3 separate regions of the Homo sapiens genome follow, and regions 2 and 3 are each linked to region 1. Evidence: promoter capture Hi-C in human tissues and cell types (Jung and others, 2019). All regions are on one chromosome and are shown on one strand. Each heading gives the region's core, a stretch centred on a gene start or on the middle of the fragment in contact. The rest is flanking DNA. Distances are from core to core; before and after follow the strand shown. Region 1 holds the start of HES1 (hes family bHLH transcription factor 1). Region 2 overlaps ATP13A3 (ATPase 13A3). Region 3 holds the start of GP5 (glycoprotein V platelet).

The links. Contacts are between HindIII fragments. The study calls those that stand out against the background at their distance.
Region 2: a contact is called between a fragment that was not itself captured here and the fragment with the promoter of HES1 in region 1, in 1 of the 25 tissues and cell types used here (mesenchymal stem cells).
Region 3: a contact is called between the fragment with the promoter of GP5 here and the fragment with the promoter of HES1 in region 1, in 3 of the 25 tissues and cell types used here (bladder, liver and ovary).

The regions. Positions count from the first base shown.
Region 1 is chr3:194,133,147-194,138,288 of GRCh38, forward strand. HES1 (hes family bHLH transcription factor 1) reads left to right here and starts at 3,002. Exons shown (of 4, transcript NM_005524.4): 1 at 3,002-3,342; 2 at 3,471-3,566; 3 at 3,815-3,902; 4 at 4,537-5,142. The coding sequence starts at 3,235. The coding sequence ends at 5,087. RefSeq lists silencers at 1,080-1,359, 1,430-1,969, 4,696-4,895 and enhancers at 2,960-4,159, 2,969-3,128, 4,926-5,115. The HindIII fragment of the contact is 11,881 bases long and covers 1-5,142 here.
Region 2 is chr3:194,413,244-194,418,385 of GRCh38, forward strand. ATP13A3 (ATPase 13A3) reads right to left here. Exons shown (of 34, transcript NM_001367549.1): 32 at 516-596. Among named protein-coding and RNA genes, the nearest start is that of GP5, 17 kb to the left of the region's middle. The HindIII fragment of the contact is 3,257 bases long and covers 757-4,013 here.
Region 3 is chr3:194,396,588-194,401,729 of GRCh38, forward strand. It overlaps GP5 (glycoprotein V platelet), which reads right to left and starts at 2,679. Exons shown (of 2, transcript NM_004488.2): 1 at 2,651-2,679; 2 at 1-1,697. The coding sequence starts at 1,695. The coding sequence ends at 13. RefSeq lists a silencer at 580-629 and enhancers at 3,509-4,062, 4,063-4,615. The HindIII fragment of the contact is 10,737 bases long and covers 1-5,142 here.

The sequences.
Region 1 (5,142 bases), core at 1,752-4,251:
AGGTCCAAAGTCCTTCAGCAAGATGTTTAAGGAGCTTGTGACATGGCCTCAAGCTGCCTCTTCCAGTCCCTCACATTCCCTAGGCTCCAGACCATGTTCCCTGAATAAAGTCTTCAAGTTCCAGGATCTTGGCCTTTAATACCATGGGTACCTGCATCCTCTCCAGCCCACGACTAAGCACATTCCCAATGCCCCAATCCTACCTATTTTTCAAGGTACACAGGCCAATCCCTCCAGGAAGTTTTCCAAGGTACCCCAACTTAAAAGTAACTTAATTCTCCTGAAACTCCATAGCATTTTACCTCTATCCAGACATACGTCTCTCTTGAACCTACGACTTCCCAGAGGAATTTACTGGGCCATCCGTAGATGTCAGCTGTACACGTTTATATGTATCTCTAGACTGTTAGCTTCCAGAGAGCAATAACGGTCTTACTCACTGCTGTAAACCCAGGTAGACCAGCAATACTGTTATCCATACAAGTATGGTTTCATATTTTGTTTCTGTCCTCCTGATCTCTCAAGCCACCACCTAACTCAGAAAAGAAAGGAAAAATAAAGGAATGTCCAGTCATCAATCAGAAAATCAGCGTCTGTCTGCCCCCGCAGTTTACTGTCAACTTCTAGCAGGCCGCCACTGTATCTCTCACCGTGGAAATCCCAGGGTTTAACACAGTGTCTGACACTGCGCGTGTGTTCCACAATGAAAGAGAGAGGGGGGCTTGCCCAAGGTCACCCAGAGTCAGGAACCACTGAATCTCATCCGGGACGAGATCTGGCGAAATCATTGACAACGTTATCTCAGTGGGGAGCTGGGAGGCCGGAAGGAATGAAGTGTCTGAGAACCGTGCGCCAGGCCTCCGGGACGCGGGAAGGGCTGAGGGGGCGGGAGGCCACATCAAACAAGACGCTGGGCTCCCGGGCTGCCCGGAGCCGCGAGCCGAGCTCCCAGGCGGCGGGAAGGGCGGAGGGGGGGTGGGGGCACGGGGGCCGGCGACCCGGGCAGGCGGGAGGGAGGCGGAGGAGGCGGCCGGCCGGCCCAGGCAGTGCGCGCCGCCCGCCCGGCTCGGCAAATCCCCCAGGGAGGCCGCCGCCAGAGCCCTGGCGCTCCCGGCCCGGCGCCCGCCACGTGGCACCCGGCGGCGGCGGCGGCGACTCCTCCCGGCGCGCGGCCCGGCCAGCAGGCAGCACGCAGCCGCCCGCGCCGCCCGCCTCCTCCCGGGCGCCCGCCGGCGGCCTCCCGGGCGTAGTGAGGGGGAGCGGCCCGGCCGCCCGGGACCCGGGGAAGGGGCGGGCGGCGCGAAGCCGCTTTAACCGCAGTCGCCGAGCGGAGGCAGGAGGCTGACCCGGCCGCTTCCTAAGTGCGGTCAGGCATCCCGTGACCGCGGCGGGCGCCCAGGGCCCCGCGGGGAGAGGGCGGGGGCGAGGAGCAAACTTGGAGGCCCCCACCTCGCCCCCGGGCTGTTGCGAATGCGGCTTTCGGCCGAGTGAAAACCCCAAGCCCGAAAGTGAGGGTGGGGAGGCGGGGGTTGGAAGAATTCCCCACTCTCCACCCCGGGTGTGCGCTCCCCGCCGGGAAGAGCTGACCTTGGCCTGGGGAGGCGGGGGTGGGGAGAGAGGGTAAGCGCCGGGGCTCGGCTCCCAGCCCGCCGCCCCCTCGGATTCCTGGCCCGGCGGGGCCGGAGGAGGGGGCCCCGGACACACACACACACACACCCCCCACACGCAGCGCGCGCCAATGAGCCCGGGCCAGGCGCAGGGGGCGGGGTTTTCCCAGGCTCGAGCACAGCAGCTGCTATTTACCTTCTTGGCTTCTCCCGGGGACCAGGAACCGGCCCCCGCTCTCCGCCGCCCGTCGCCGCCCCCCGCCTCCCTGCCCCCGGGGCGCGCGCACACACACTCACTCACACACGCACGCACACACACATCCTCCCGGCCCGGCCGCAGCCGCGGCGGCAATAAAACATCCTGGCACGTGCTCCGGCTCCAGGCGCGCCCACGCCGGCCGGCTGATGTCAAACTGCAGCTCGGCTGGTGTAGCTCTTAAAGGGCCCGCGGGCGCCGGGGGCCGAGGCCGCCCGCGGGGCGAGGAGGGAGAGGCTGCTTCCTTGCCCGCCACCTCAACGCGCCGCAGAACCTAAAGCCTACGGATGAAAAGGGAAAGGGTGGTGAAGGAGGGCGCGAGTCCCTGAGTCATTGCCCTCGGAGCCCCCCTTGTTCATTTTTTCATTTGAAATACCGTTTCCTTCCACCCAGTTGGAAATTATTCTGATTGTTTCCTGGGGAAGCCCGGGGTCTAAGGCCCCAAATCCAAACGAGGAATTTCTGAAAGACGGGGTGGGGGTGGGATTCAAGAACTACCTTGCTCCGAAAAACCTGCATTTGTGAGGTAGAAGGCAATTTTTCCTTTTTCTGCATGGAAACAGGAAAATTTTTTTGGCCCTTTTCCTTTACCATCTACTTTCACCCTCCTGAATGTAAAGTCTGAGCGGGAACTTTAGATGTGTCGGTAACTCACATTCTTACACCCGTCCCCCCCTCCCCCCGCCCCCTTTTAACCACTGCTGTTTTTTTCTTTATTGTTTATACCTTTAAAAAAAATATGTTTCAAATGAACTTACTACAGTCAAAGCAGCTCTGTTACATATGAGAGAGGGCATAAAGAGCAAAGACCCTGGCTCCAAAAGAAATAGACAAGATCAAGACCAAAGCGGAAAGAAAAAAAAAATCTCTAAACCAAAGCCCAGAGGGAGAGTAGCAAAGGGTTAAAATCCTTTTGATTGACGTTGTAGCCTCCGGTGCCCTGGGCTCAGGCGCGCGCCATTGGCCGCCAGACCTTGTGCCTGGCGGCCAATGGGGGGGCGCGGTCCACGAGCGGTGCCGCGTGTCTCCTCCTCCCATTGGCTGAAAGTTACTGTGGGAAAGAAAGTTTGGGAAGTTTCACACGAGCCGTTCGCGTGCAGTCCCAGATATATATAGAGGCCGCCAGGGCCTAGGGATCACACAGGATCCGGAGCTGGTGCTGATAACAGCGGAATCCCCCGTCTACCTCTCTCCTTGGTCCTGGAACAGCGCTACTGATCACCAAGTAGCCACAAAATATAATAAACCCTCAGCACTTGCTCAGTAGTTTTGTGAAAGTCTCAAGTAAAAGAGACACAAACAAAAAATTCTTTTTCGTGAAGAACTCCAAAAATAAAATTCTCTAGAGATAAAAAAAAAAAAAAAAGGAAAATGCCAGCTGATATAATGGAGAAAAATTCCTCGTCCCCGGTGGCTGCTACCCCAGCCAGTGTCAACACGACACCGGATAAACCAAAGACAGCATCTGAGCACAGAAAGGTAAGGGCGGTACCTGTATCTCTTTGCAGCCCCTCAAAATTAAGTAGGGGTTGGGGGGCTTCTTTCTGTCTTGAAACCCCGGGATGGCAGATTCCATGGGAACACAGAACTCTTTTTTTTATTTGCAGTCATCAAAGCCTATTATGGAGAAAAGACGAAGAGCAAGAATAAATGAAAGTCTGAGCCAGCTGAAAACACTGATTTTGGATGCTCTGAAGAAAGATGTAAGTGGGGAAATGCTGCTCGCTCTTTTAATTAAAAAACAAACACTTTCTCAGCTACTAAGAGTGAAACCCCCCGCCCTGCGGGGTCTGGCACTCGCTGGTACTGCGTTCTCCCAGGCGGGAGGGCCCGGCCTTATTCGCTGGGGTCCAGAGATAATGCTTGCGCTCCGTGGCCGGGAGGAGGGACCCCCAGCACTCTGAAGCAGCTGACACGGGGCTCACTTTCCTTTCTTGCCTACTCTATGCAGAGCTCGCGGCATTCCAAGCTGGAGAAGGCGGACATTCTGGAAATGACAGTGAAGCACCTCCGGAACCTGCAGCGGGCGCAGATGACGGGTGAGGGCGGCTCGCCGCGTCCCCCTGTGCGGGCGTCCCGCTCGCCTCGCGGTGATTTCTTCCAGACTTCCGCCCGTGGTTGTGAGAGGCATTCAGCTACATTTTACTGCCTTGGCTCACTCTTGCGTTCCCACGGTCTGGGGCTTATTTATAGCCACAACTCCAAGTTGTTACTGTTCCGGAAAGGGAGGGAAAGAGGTTGCAGCCGCGAGGGTGGCGGGCGCCGGGTAGGGGCGAAAGGACTTAGGACTGTGGCGGTTTGGAACTGCGTGGAGCCTGGGGGTCACTGGTTTAGCACTCCTTCCCGTTGCAGAAGGGGAAATGAGGCTTGGATGATGGATTGGGAGGCATTGTCCAAGGTCACATCGCGCGCGGGGGTGGGGGTGACAGATCTGGGGCTGAGATAGGTTTAAATGCAGCTACAGGGAATCGGGAAGGAGTGGCTCGGCTTTTGGCAGCAACGCTAGTGTGGAGAGGTGGCTGGTTTTTTCTAAACCCATCTCACCCTCCCTGCCGGAGGCAGTTTCACGGGCGCATGGTCAGGGAGGCGCGCCACAGGGACCTCCCAGGGCGGAGGCAGTGGCCACGGGGCCAGGGCCGTTCGGTGACCCGTCTGTCTCTTTCTGGCCCGCAGCTGCGCTGAGCACAGACCCAAGTGTGCTGGGGAAGTACCGAGCCGGCTTCAGCGAGTGCATGAACGAGGTGACCCGCTTCCTGTCCACGTGCGAGGGCGTTAATACCGAGGTGCGCACTCGGCTGCTCGGCCACCTGGCCAACTGCATGACCCAGATCAATGCCATGACCTACCCCGGGCAGCCGCACCCCGCCTTGCAGGCGCCGCCACCGCCCCCACCGGGACCCGGCGGCCCCCAGCACGCGCCGTTCGCGCCGCCGCCGCCACTCGTGCCCATCCCCGGGGGCGCGGCGCCCCCTCCCGGCGGCGCCCCCTGCAAGCTGGGCAGCCAGGCTGGAGAGGCGGCTAAGGTGTTTGGAGGCTTCCAGGTGGTACCGGCTCCCGATGGCCAGTTTGCTTTCCTCATTCCCAACGGGGCCTTCGCGCACAGCGGCCCTGTCATCCCCGTCTACACCAGCAACAGCGGCACCTCCGTGGGCCCCAACGCAGTGTCACCTTCCAGCGGCCCCTCGCTTACGGCGGACTCCATGTGGAGGCCGTGGCGGAACTGAGGGGGCTCAGGCCACCCCTCCTCCTAAACTCCCCAACCCACCTCTCTTCCCTCCG
Region 2 (5,142 bases), core at 1,135-3,634, 280 kb after region 1:
AATACCAAGGAGGATGTTCCAGTAATCAATGCTGAAATTAGGTAAGTCCATAACGATTATTATTTTATACTTTCATTAAACTCTCTTGCTATTAATATTCACTGTGTTTCCTGGAGAATGGCCCTCCCCCTTCCCCCCTCCCTTAAATGGGAGATTTTACTGTACATCACAAAACACAGGTGGCACATGCCAACTCTGATTTCACAATCACTGGTTCATCAGTTTCATGGGCCACCGAGGCCCCAAACTTCTCTCCTTTCTACTCGTCATTAATTTTTATTATCACATTGCTTATTTTCTCCTATCTGTGTGAGTGCAACTAAGTCACCTCCCTTAATATGACCACTATCAATTCATGGAAAAGTTCACAAGAGAAGGCTAAATGAATTTGCCTGAGATGAAACTGAGACTCTGTGGCTTTCCATTATATTACCTGCCCTCTTCTCCCATTTACCATTAAATCACCCAAGAATTCCAAAGCAACATGGTAGCCATTTGACTATGGAAGTGCTTACCTCCACTGTGATAGACACAAAGGCATTGACAAGAACAATGATGAGCATAGTTACACGCCACTGATATGGTACACACACTATCTGTAATGCAAAAACATTTTAAAGTTAAAATTGTTGTATGTAGTCAATATTATAGCACTGTATCATAATTTCTAAATTTATTGAATTCCTATGATGTACCAAACACCTTCATATACATTATCTACTTAATCCTCAACAATGCCCCGCGGTATATATTATATTCCCTTTCAGATGATAAAACTCAAAGTTTAAGTAACTCAAGGTTAAAGAAAATATTAAGTGACTGAGGTTAGAGTCAAATCCTGTTCACTCAGATTCAAAAGCCCATGCTCTACTAGATCATGAATGTCTAACAGTTTCTATTTTCAAAATAAAAACCCATCTTTAAAGAATGAGGTACCAGCCAGGCACAGTGGCTCATGCCTGTGATCCCAACATCTTGGGAGGCAGAGGTGGGCAGATCACTTGAGGCTAGGAGTTTGAGCCTAGCCTGGGCAACATGGCAAAATCTCGTCTCTACTAAAAATACAAAAATTAGCCAGGCGAGGTGGTGCATGCCTATAATCCCAGCTACTCAAAAGGCTGAGCCACGAGAATCACTTGAGCCTGGGAAGTGGAGGCTGCAGTGAGCCGAGATCCTGCCACTGTACTCCAGCGTGGGTGACAGAAGAACCTGCCTTAAAAAAAAAAAAAAAGAGGTACCAATCTAATAACGAAGTACTGGTCAAAACTCAATTATAAAGACAACTTCATAAAAAAAGATGAAGTTAAGAAAAAACAATCTAAGTGTTCACTTTAAAATCTGATTAATTTCTAAGGCCTAAAAAATGGGATAGTTGTAAAGACAGAAAGGTTTATAATAAGAAAACTGAAAGAATCTAACAAATGGCTGGCTACGGAAAGAGGAAGAAAAGGCACAGATAAATAGACACACACGCATGTACACAAGCATGCACACTTCTGACTTGAATAAATAGTGGTACCAAGAAACAGAGAAGAAAAAGGGTTGAAGGAGAACATGATGAGCTTAGTTCTTAAAATGTTTAAATTGAGGGATCTGTTGGGTGGAACACCCAAGTAACAGTCAATATATCAGTGTATTTGCAGGTCTAAAGCTTAGTAGTGAGGTAGGCTCAGGGTATAAAGGTTGGGAGCCTTTAACATATAGATGGTGATTACAGGTGAAGCCATGACTCTAGGGGATATCACCAGAATGTATTGAGTGACCAGAGGAATAAGAACAGAAATGTAAGGAACCCTAACATTTAAGGAATGGGCAGAGGGAGTGGAGCCAAAGTGGAAAATGAGACTGGAGAGTCAGAGCTAAGAAAAGGCCAAAAGACAGCAAAGCATCACAAAATTTCAGAAGAGAGTATCTTAAGAATGATGACATGGCTAACTCGTCAAATACTGCTGGGGAGTCAAGTAAGACTGGAAAAAAATACATTAGGGAGAAAAGTCCATTGGACTTAACAAGTAAGAGGCTAACGGCCTTGCTGAGGGCCGTTTCAGTAGATTGGCAGGGGAAGATGCCAGATTAGTTGACGAACGTGTGGGAGGTGAGCTGAATGTGGTACTATTTCAAGAAAAAGTTGGTTGTGAAACAGAAGACATGTGCACCAGGAGAGAAATATAATGCATTTTGTTTTCTTCTTTTACTGTAAGTGCTTATCTAAACCCCTCAATGAAATATGCAGGGAAACAGACATATACTGCTGGTAAGACTACAACCTGGAACATCTTCAAAGTTCAATAATGCAGAATTTATGAAAATTAAATTTATAGATACCCTCAGACCAAGCAATTCCACTTTTGCATATTTAGCCTATAAATATATATTTGTCTGTAACTGAAGTGTGCAAGGATTTACAATACCACATTCTTTTTTTTTTTTTTTTTTTTTTTTTTGAGACGGAGTCTCGCCCTGTCGCCCAGCCTGGAGTGCAGTGGTGTGATCTTGGCTCACTGCAAGCTCCGCCTCCCGGGTTCACACCATTCTCCTTACAATACCACATTGTTTCTAATAGCAAAACACTGGAACCAACCTAAATATCCAGCAAAACAGGACTAAACAAATTACTAAAAAGTCCCTGCAATGGAATACTCATTTCACAAACTTTGTAAGTTTAAGTTATATAACTTTAAGATCAAACCTGTCCGTAACATACAAGAAAAGAAAATTAAATCTGATCTCATTCATGCAGAGGCAAAAATCCAAAACAAAATCATAGCAACCTAAATCCAAATTTCAAAGAGTGTGCATCATGACCAAACTGAATTTATTCTAGAAATGCAAAGTTAGTTCAATATTTGAATACTGATCAGCTATAATTCATCACATTCTTCAGGGAGAAAAACTGTGTGACCATTTCAATAGCTGCAGAAAAAGCATTAGATTGGCTGGGCACAGTGGCTCACACCTGCAATCCCAGCACTTTGGGAGGCCACGGTGGGTGGATCGTGAGGTCAGGAGTTCGATACCAGTCTGGCCAGATGGTGAAATCCCATCTCTACTAAGAACACAAAAACTTAGCCAGGCATGGTGGCACACGCCTGTAATCCCAGCTACTTGGGAGGCTGAGGCAGGAGAATTGCTTGAACCCGGGAGGTGGAGGTTGCAGTGAGCCGAGATCATGCCACTGCACTCCAGCCTGGGCGACAGAGCGAGACTCCATCTCAAAAAAAAAAGCATTAGATAAAAATTTAAAACCACTTATGTTAACAACACTGTACAACTAAGGAAGCTTCCTTAACCTGATAAAGACTATACACTAGAAATATACAGCAAACAGTTTATCTAATGGTGAACTATTAGGAACACGTCCTTTAGAGACAAGAGTAAGACAAGGATATCACTATCACTATAACTAATATATTAAGACATGAAAAATACAGAAAAAGCACATAAAGACTGTGAAATGTCAGAAACAAACTGCTGGGGAGTCAAGTAAGTAATTACAGCTTGTAATTACTTATATATGATGCCTGTCTAAACAGAAAATCCTAGACAATCTAAAATGTGTCTGAATAAAGTCTGATAAGGCTTCTGGGAACAAGATGAATATCTAAAACAACTGTATTGAGTTCAACAACATAAAAAATTAGAAAATGTCATTTTAATTATAATTTATCAAGGGATCAAAAACTGTTATTACTCTAAGAATCTAACAAAAAATGTACAAAAACCATTAGGGAGAAAACTATCTGACTTACTGAAAGACATTAGGTCAAAAAGACAGAAACAGAACGAGATACTGTTTGTGGGAAGGAAAACTAATGAATTCACCCTCAAAATTTATTGATCAACTCTGTGTAATTCTAATAGTTCCGAAAGGGCTTTTCCTGGTATTTGACAAACTAAACTTAAAAGTTAAGAAGAAAAGCTTAGCTGGGCACAGTGGCTCACCAAGGCAGGGAGCTCACCCGAGGTCAAGAGTTCAAGACAAGCCTGGCCAACATGGTGAAAACCCATCTCTACTAAGAATAGAAAAAATTAGAGCCAGGCGTTGTGGCAGGTGCCAGCTACTCGTGAGGCCGAGGCAGGAGAATCGCTTGAATCCGAGAGACAAAGCTTGCAGTGGGCTGCACTCCAGCCTGGGTACCAGAGCCAGATTCTGACACACACACACACACACACACACACACACACACACACACACACACACAAAAGGAGGAAGAAGGAAAGCTCAAGCACAGCCAAAAAGGTCATGATGAACAACAATGTGAGAGGGGGGTAGGAGTCCTACCCAAGCATGTATCAAGGTTTCTTATAAAGTCATGGTAGCATGGACAATATAGTACTGGCACAAATAAAGAGAACTAAACAACAAAATATGGAGTCCCTAAAACACTATTAGTCATATATATGGAAAACTGTGGCCAGGCGCCATGGCTCATGCCTGTAATCTTAATACTTTCGGAGGCTGAGGCAGGAGGATCACTTGAGCCCAGGAGTTGGGGGTCAGACTGGGCAACACAGTGAAACCCCATTACAAACCCCATTTATAATTTTTATTACAAAAAATTTTAAAATTTGCTGGGTGTGGTGGTGCACAACTGTGGTCCCAGCTACTCAGGAGGCTGTGGTGGGAGGACCACTTGAGCCCAGGAGGTCGAGGCCACAGTGAGCTGAGATCATACCACTGCACTGCAGCGTGGGTGACAGACAGACGGACGGACGGAAGGAAGGAAGGAAGGAAGGAAGGAAGGGAGGGAGGGAGGGAGGGAGGAGAGGGGAGGCGGGGGAGGAAGGAAAGAAGGAATGAAGGAAGGAAGGAAGGAAACTGATATAAGACAAAGGTATCACTGAATATCAGTGGCAAAGACAAACTTCAATAAGCAATTGCTGAAACAAATGGGTATGCGTAAGAGAAAAAAAGAAAAAGAAATTTGATCCCTATTCAAAAGCTATACATAAAATTAATTCCAGATGGATTAAAGACTAAATGTGAGAGTATCTTTATAACTTTGAGATGGACAAGTCCGCCAAACTGAGACACGAGGAACAAATAAAGAAAGAAATTAATAAATTTGCCATGTCAGACTATAAGTTTGTTTTTTAAAAAGAGATATTATAAACAAAGTAAAAAGACAAGCCACAAACTGG
Region 3 (5,142 bases), core at 1,429-3,928, 260 kb after region 1:
TTTCCCATTGGTTTACCCAAGGGCTCTCTCTCTGATTAATTTTCGAAAGAGTTGGCCAATTTTAATCATAGCAAACACGATGATCACGGTGATCATGGCCTGAACAGCTAAAAGCAGAAAATAAAACCCCCAGAACGGACTATGATCTTGACCTTTGCCCGTGGTCACCGGCTGGGCCCACACCCAGGGTTCTGAGCTGTTGGGAGCCAAGGCTGGGTGGACAGGGGCTTCCGAGGAGCTGTCCGCAGCGGGGCGGGGAGGCGGGCCCCGGGGGCCCGGGCACTCCGCGTCACCCCCCGGCAGGGCCCAGAGCGGCAGGCCGGCGTGCGCCCCAGGGCCTGCGCACCGTGGGGGCTCTTCCCCGCCCACGAGGCCTAGGTGCTGCCGCAGCCACCCCAGGAAGGGCCCCAGGCCACAGTCGCAGCGCCAGGAGTTGTGCCCCAACAGGACCTCCGTCAGCCGGGGCAGAGCCCCAAACACGTCGCCAGGCAGGGTCTCCAGCTGGTTGTGGTCGAGCTGGACGCTCTCCAGGCTGCTGAGATTGCGGAAGAGGGCACGGGGCAGGGCGCGCAGCCTGTTGCGGCGCAGGGACACCTGGCGCAGCTTGCCGAGGCCGCGCAGCAAGCCGTCGGGGAGGGCGGTCAGGCCGTTGGAGTGCAGGGCGAGCACCTGGAGCTCGCCAAGGCCCTGGAAGGCGCCCTGCGGAAGCGCGCTCAGCCGCGGGCTCAGAGTCACCCCTAAGTACCGCAGGCGGCTCAGGTTGCGGAAGGCGGCGGCGGGCAGGGTGCGCAGCTGGGTGCGGTTCAGCCACAGCTCCTGCAGGCCCCCCATCTCCCCGAAGAGCACCCCCGGGAGCTCTGCCAGCGGGTTCTCGAACAGAGTCAACAGAGTCAGATTGTGCGAATGAAGAAAGAGCGCAGAGGGGAGAAACGCAAGGTGGTTTCTCGAAAGCGTCAAAGAACTGAGGTTTGGGAGCCGGTCGAAGGCCCCGGGTGCGATGGAACGGATGTGATTTCGGTGGAACTGCAGCTCCGTCAGGGCGCCCAGGCTGTTCAACAGCCCCGAATCCAGAGACACAAGGCGGTTCGAGTGGAGCAGAAGTCTCTCGAGCTTAGCCTGTGCTCCAAGCAACCCCTTGGGCAGGTGGGTCAGGTTGTTTCCCGATAAATCCAACAACTTCAGGTTCTCCAGATTCGTGAAGAGACTGGCAGGAAGGAAATCGAGCTGATTCTGGTTCAGAGCGAGCTCCTGCAGGTTAACCAGTTTCTGAAACATGTTTTGGTCAATGCCCCTTAGCGCATTGTGGTCCAAAAACAACTGCTCCAGGAGCACCATCTTATCCAGCAGCGCACCTGGAAGATGCGTGATTTTGTTGCGCGACAGCCTCAGGGTTTTCAGTTTTATCAGGTCACTGAAGGTGCCGGGGGCAACGGCGGAAATGTGGCTGTCGGAGATCATGAGGCGCTGCAGGACGGTCATGCCGCTGAAGCTCTGGCTCTGCAGGACGCCGCGGCCCATTCCGAAGAGCAGGATGTGCGTGAGGTTGGTGGGCAGGCCTAGCGCGGAGATGCGCGCCACGTCGCCCCCCGAGCACTGCGCGGCGTCCCGGAAGACACACTTGCAAGCTGGCGGACAGGGGAAGGGCTGGGCGCGCAGAAGCCCGAGCACCGCGCACAGTAGAGTCCCCCTCAGCATGTCTGAAAAAGCAACCGTGGGAGTGTGGTCAACACACAGGAGCGTTCGCGCCTGTACTGAACCCTGGGATCCTGCACTTTGTGCAGAGGCACAATCCTTTCGCCAGAATTCTCACTCCCTCTTTTCTTAGGACTACAGATTTCCCTACGTGGTGAAAAGACACTCATTCTACACTGCGTGGCCTCATGCTTTTGCTTTATTGATTTTCCACTCTCAGTTTAAAGCATTGAGATTACAGAGTTTTCAAGCTACCGAATAGCCAATACTTTAAAGTCCTTACATAGAGAATTAAAATAATCATTCTCACATTCAAGCTCACAGACATCACAAAGCAATGTCCATTGTGAAAACGGCTCTGCTCTTGACTTTATAACTTACCCTGCATTGGCTATAACCAACAGTCAAGAAGGGAACAGCAAAGTCTGCAGCCACCACCATCTGATTCTTTTGCTCACAATCATGCTATTTCCACAGTACCAAGTTACTCTATTAAAGGACACCCCCAAAACAGCGAACACCTTCAATCAACAGCCAACAAAAGCATATAATAATACCTATCACTTTACGCCATGCATTGTTCTCAGCTCTTTATTTATACTACATGCATTTAATCCTTACAATAACCTTAGGAGGTAAGTATATTATCCCCGATTCAAGGATGAAGGCACAGAGGCACAGAAAGGCTCAACAGTATAACTAGGGTCACATAGAATTTGAGGGTAGTATTTCTGACTTAGCCATAAAGAGCTACTATTTCTAAGATGCTTAACTAAAGGTAATACTCACGGCACTGAATTTTCTGGGAAATGCACACCATACTACTAACCTGCCAAAACAATGTTTCCTAAGCGAAATTTTACATAAATTGCTTCTCGTGCAATTTTACTTCTCATGCACACACAGACTAAAGAGCCCTCTAATTTCCTATACTAATGTTTAAAATATTTGGCCTTACCTGAAATGGTTCTGCACTCCAAAGTAACTGAAAGACTTAGAGCTCTGCATGTGATTCGACACTTTCCACAGGAAGAGGGTGGTATCCTTGCATCCTGAGGATAAAGACTTTACCAGAGTAGGTCAGGAAAGGACCCTATCTCAGAGCCCTTGTTCTGGTTTTTAATGACAAATATCTTCAAACCGAGAGACCATATATAACCTGATTCCTACTGTCAAAGCCAAGAGCAGTGGGGAGAGTTTTTCCATAAATGGCACAATATAACTCTATGATGCCAGGGAAGTTCAGTGATACAGCTGGATCACTGCAGTAGCCACACCCCTAGATGGGCCACACTTCCCCTGGGTCTTCCTTTTCATGCCACATGGCCCTAATTTCCCACCCAGGTTTTTTTTTTTTTTTTTTTTTTTTTTTTTTTTTTTTTTGGTATGTGTTGTTTTTCTTTCTCCGCTTAGCAATAAAGCTAAGAACATTCTCAAATCCTCCATTTTTTTCTTCCTTTTGGGACTAATAAGGCTAAGAACATCTTTGAACTTGTTCAACAATGGCATTGCTAGGTTGCAGGATGCTCACTTGTTGTTTTTTTGGTGGGGGAGGGGGACTCTGTCGCCCAGGCTGGGGTGCAGTGGTGCGATCTCGGCTCACTGCAACCTCCTGCTCCCTGGTTCAAGCAATTCTCCTGCCTCGGCCTCACAAGTAGCTGGGATTACAGGCACACACCATCACGCCCAGCTAATTTTTTGTATTTTAGTAGAGACGGGGTTTTACCGTGTTGCCCTGGCTGGTCTTGAACTCCTGAGCTCAGGCAATCCGCCCGCCTCGGCCTCCCAAACTGCTGGGATTACAGGCATGAGCCACCACGCCCGGCCGCTCACATGTTCAGTTTAACTGGGGAAAGTCAAACTGCTCTCCAAAGTGGTTGTGTTGGTCTACGATGACACCTGCCATTTGTGAGAGTTCCTGTGCTTCCTCTCTGCCCACACGTGGCACTTCCTGCTTTTTGCCATTTCTATGAAAGATATCTCAGCATGATTTTAACTTTTCCTTTCCCTGTTTAATGATGAACTTGAACACCTTTTCACATAATTAAGGCCCACTTGTGCTTCATTTGAGAAAGCTGGGTTTCCTTTTGCCCATTTGTCTATAGGCAAAACGTGTCTACGTGTCTTTTGAACACACTGATAATGCTGTCTGCATTAAGACTTCCGGCCAGCCGCCCTGTCCGGGAGGGAGGTGGGGGGGTCAGCCCCCCGCCCGGCCGGCCGCCCCATCCGGGAGGTGAGGGGCGCCTCTGCCCGGCCGCCCCTACTGGGAAGTGAGGACCCCTCTGCCCGGCCAGCCGCCCCATCCGGGAGGTGGGGGGCGCTTCTGCCCGGCCGCCCCTACTGGGAAGTGAGGAGCCCCTCTGCCCGGCCACGACCCCGTCTGGGAGGTGTGCCTAGCGGCTCATTGGGGATGGGCCATGATGACAATGGCAGTTTTGTGGAATAGAAAGGCGGGAAGGGTGGGGAAAAAATTGAGAAATCGGATGGTTGCCGGGTCTGTGTGGATAGAAGTAGACATGGGAGACTTTTCATTTTGTTCTGTACTAAGAAAAATTCTTCTGCCTTGGGATCCTGTTGATCTGTGACCTTATCCCCAACCCTGTGCTCTCTGAAACATGTGCTGTGTCCACTCAGGGTTAAATGGATTAAGGGCGGTGCAAGATGTGCTTTGTTAAACAGATGCTTGAAGGCAGCATGCTCGTTAAGAGTCATCACCACTCCCTAATCTCAAGTACCCAGGGACACAAACACTGCGGAAGGCCGCAGGGTCCTCTGCCTAGGAAAACCAGAGACCTTTGTTCACTTGTTTATCTGCTGACCTTCCCTCCACTGTTGTCCTATGACCCTGCCAAATCCCCCTCTGCGAGAAACACCCAAGAATGATCAATAAAAAAAAAAAAAAAAAAAAAAAAGACTTCTATCCTTCAAGACACCATAAAAAAGGGGAAAAGATAAACCACAAACTAAAGATATTTGTAACACCTATAGCTGACAAAGGCTTAATGTCAGAAGATATAAAGAATCATGGGATCCAATCCCCTTTGATGCAGCCTAATGCAGTCAGAGCCCAGTAAAGGCTGGGTTGACTGAAATTACCTTCAAAGTCACGCAGCCCTGGACCACAGGGAAGAGCCACTGCCTCTGCCAGGTATCGCGGGAGGTCTTTCAGTTCCGATCAAGGAATGCAACTCCAGAGCCCTGAACTGCTACACTGGTGACCTGGTAAGTCCGTCATGCATAGGCACATCGAGTGAAAGCCTCCCCGCCCCCTTGCCCATGAAATTGCCAGGGAGCCAACATGACAGACTGGGAAGGCGAGCTGTGAAACAGAGTAAGATGCCGATGGCTCAAATTCCTGTGGCCCTTCTTTAGCCTATTTCCCCAGGAAAACCTCCAGTCAGAATGGCCTCTACATTTTGTCCCTTAGGAAGACACTTTGATTGTCCA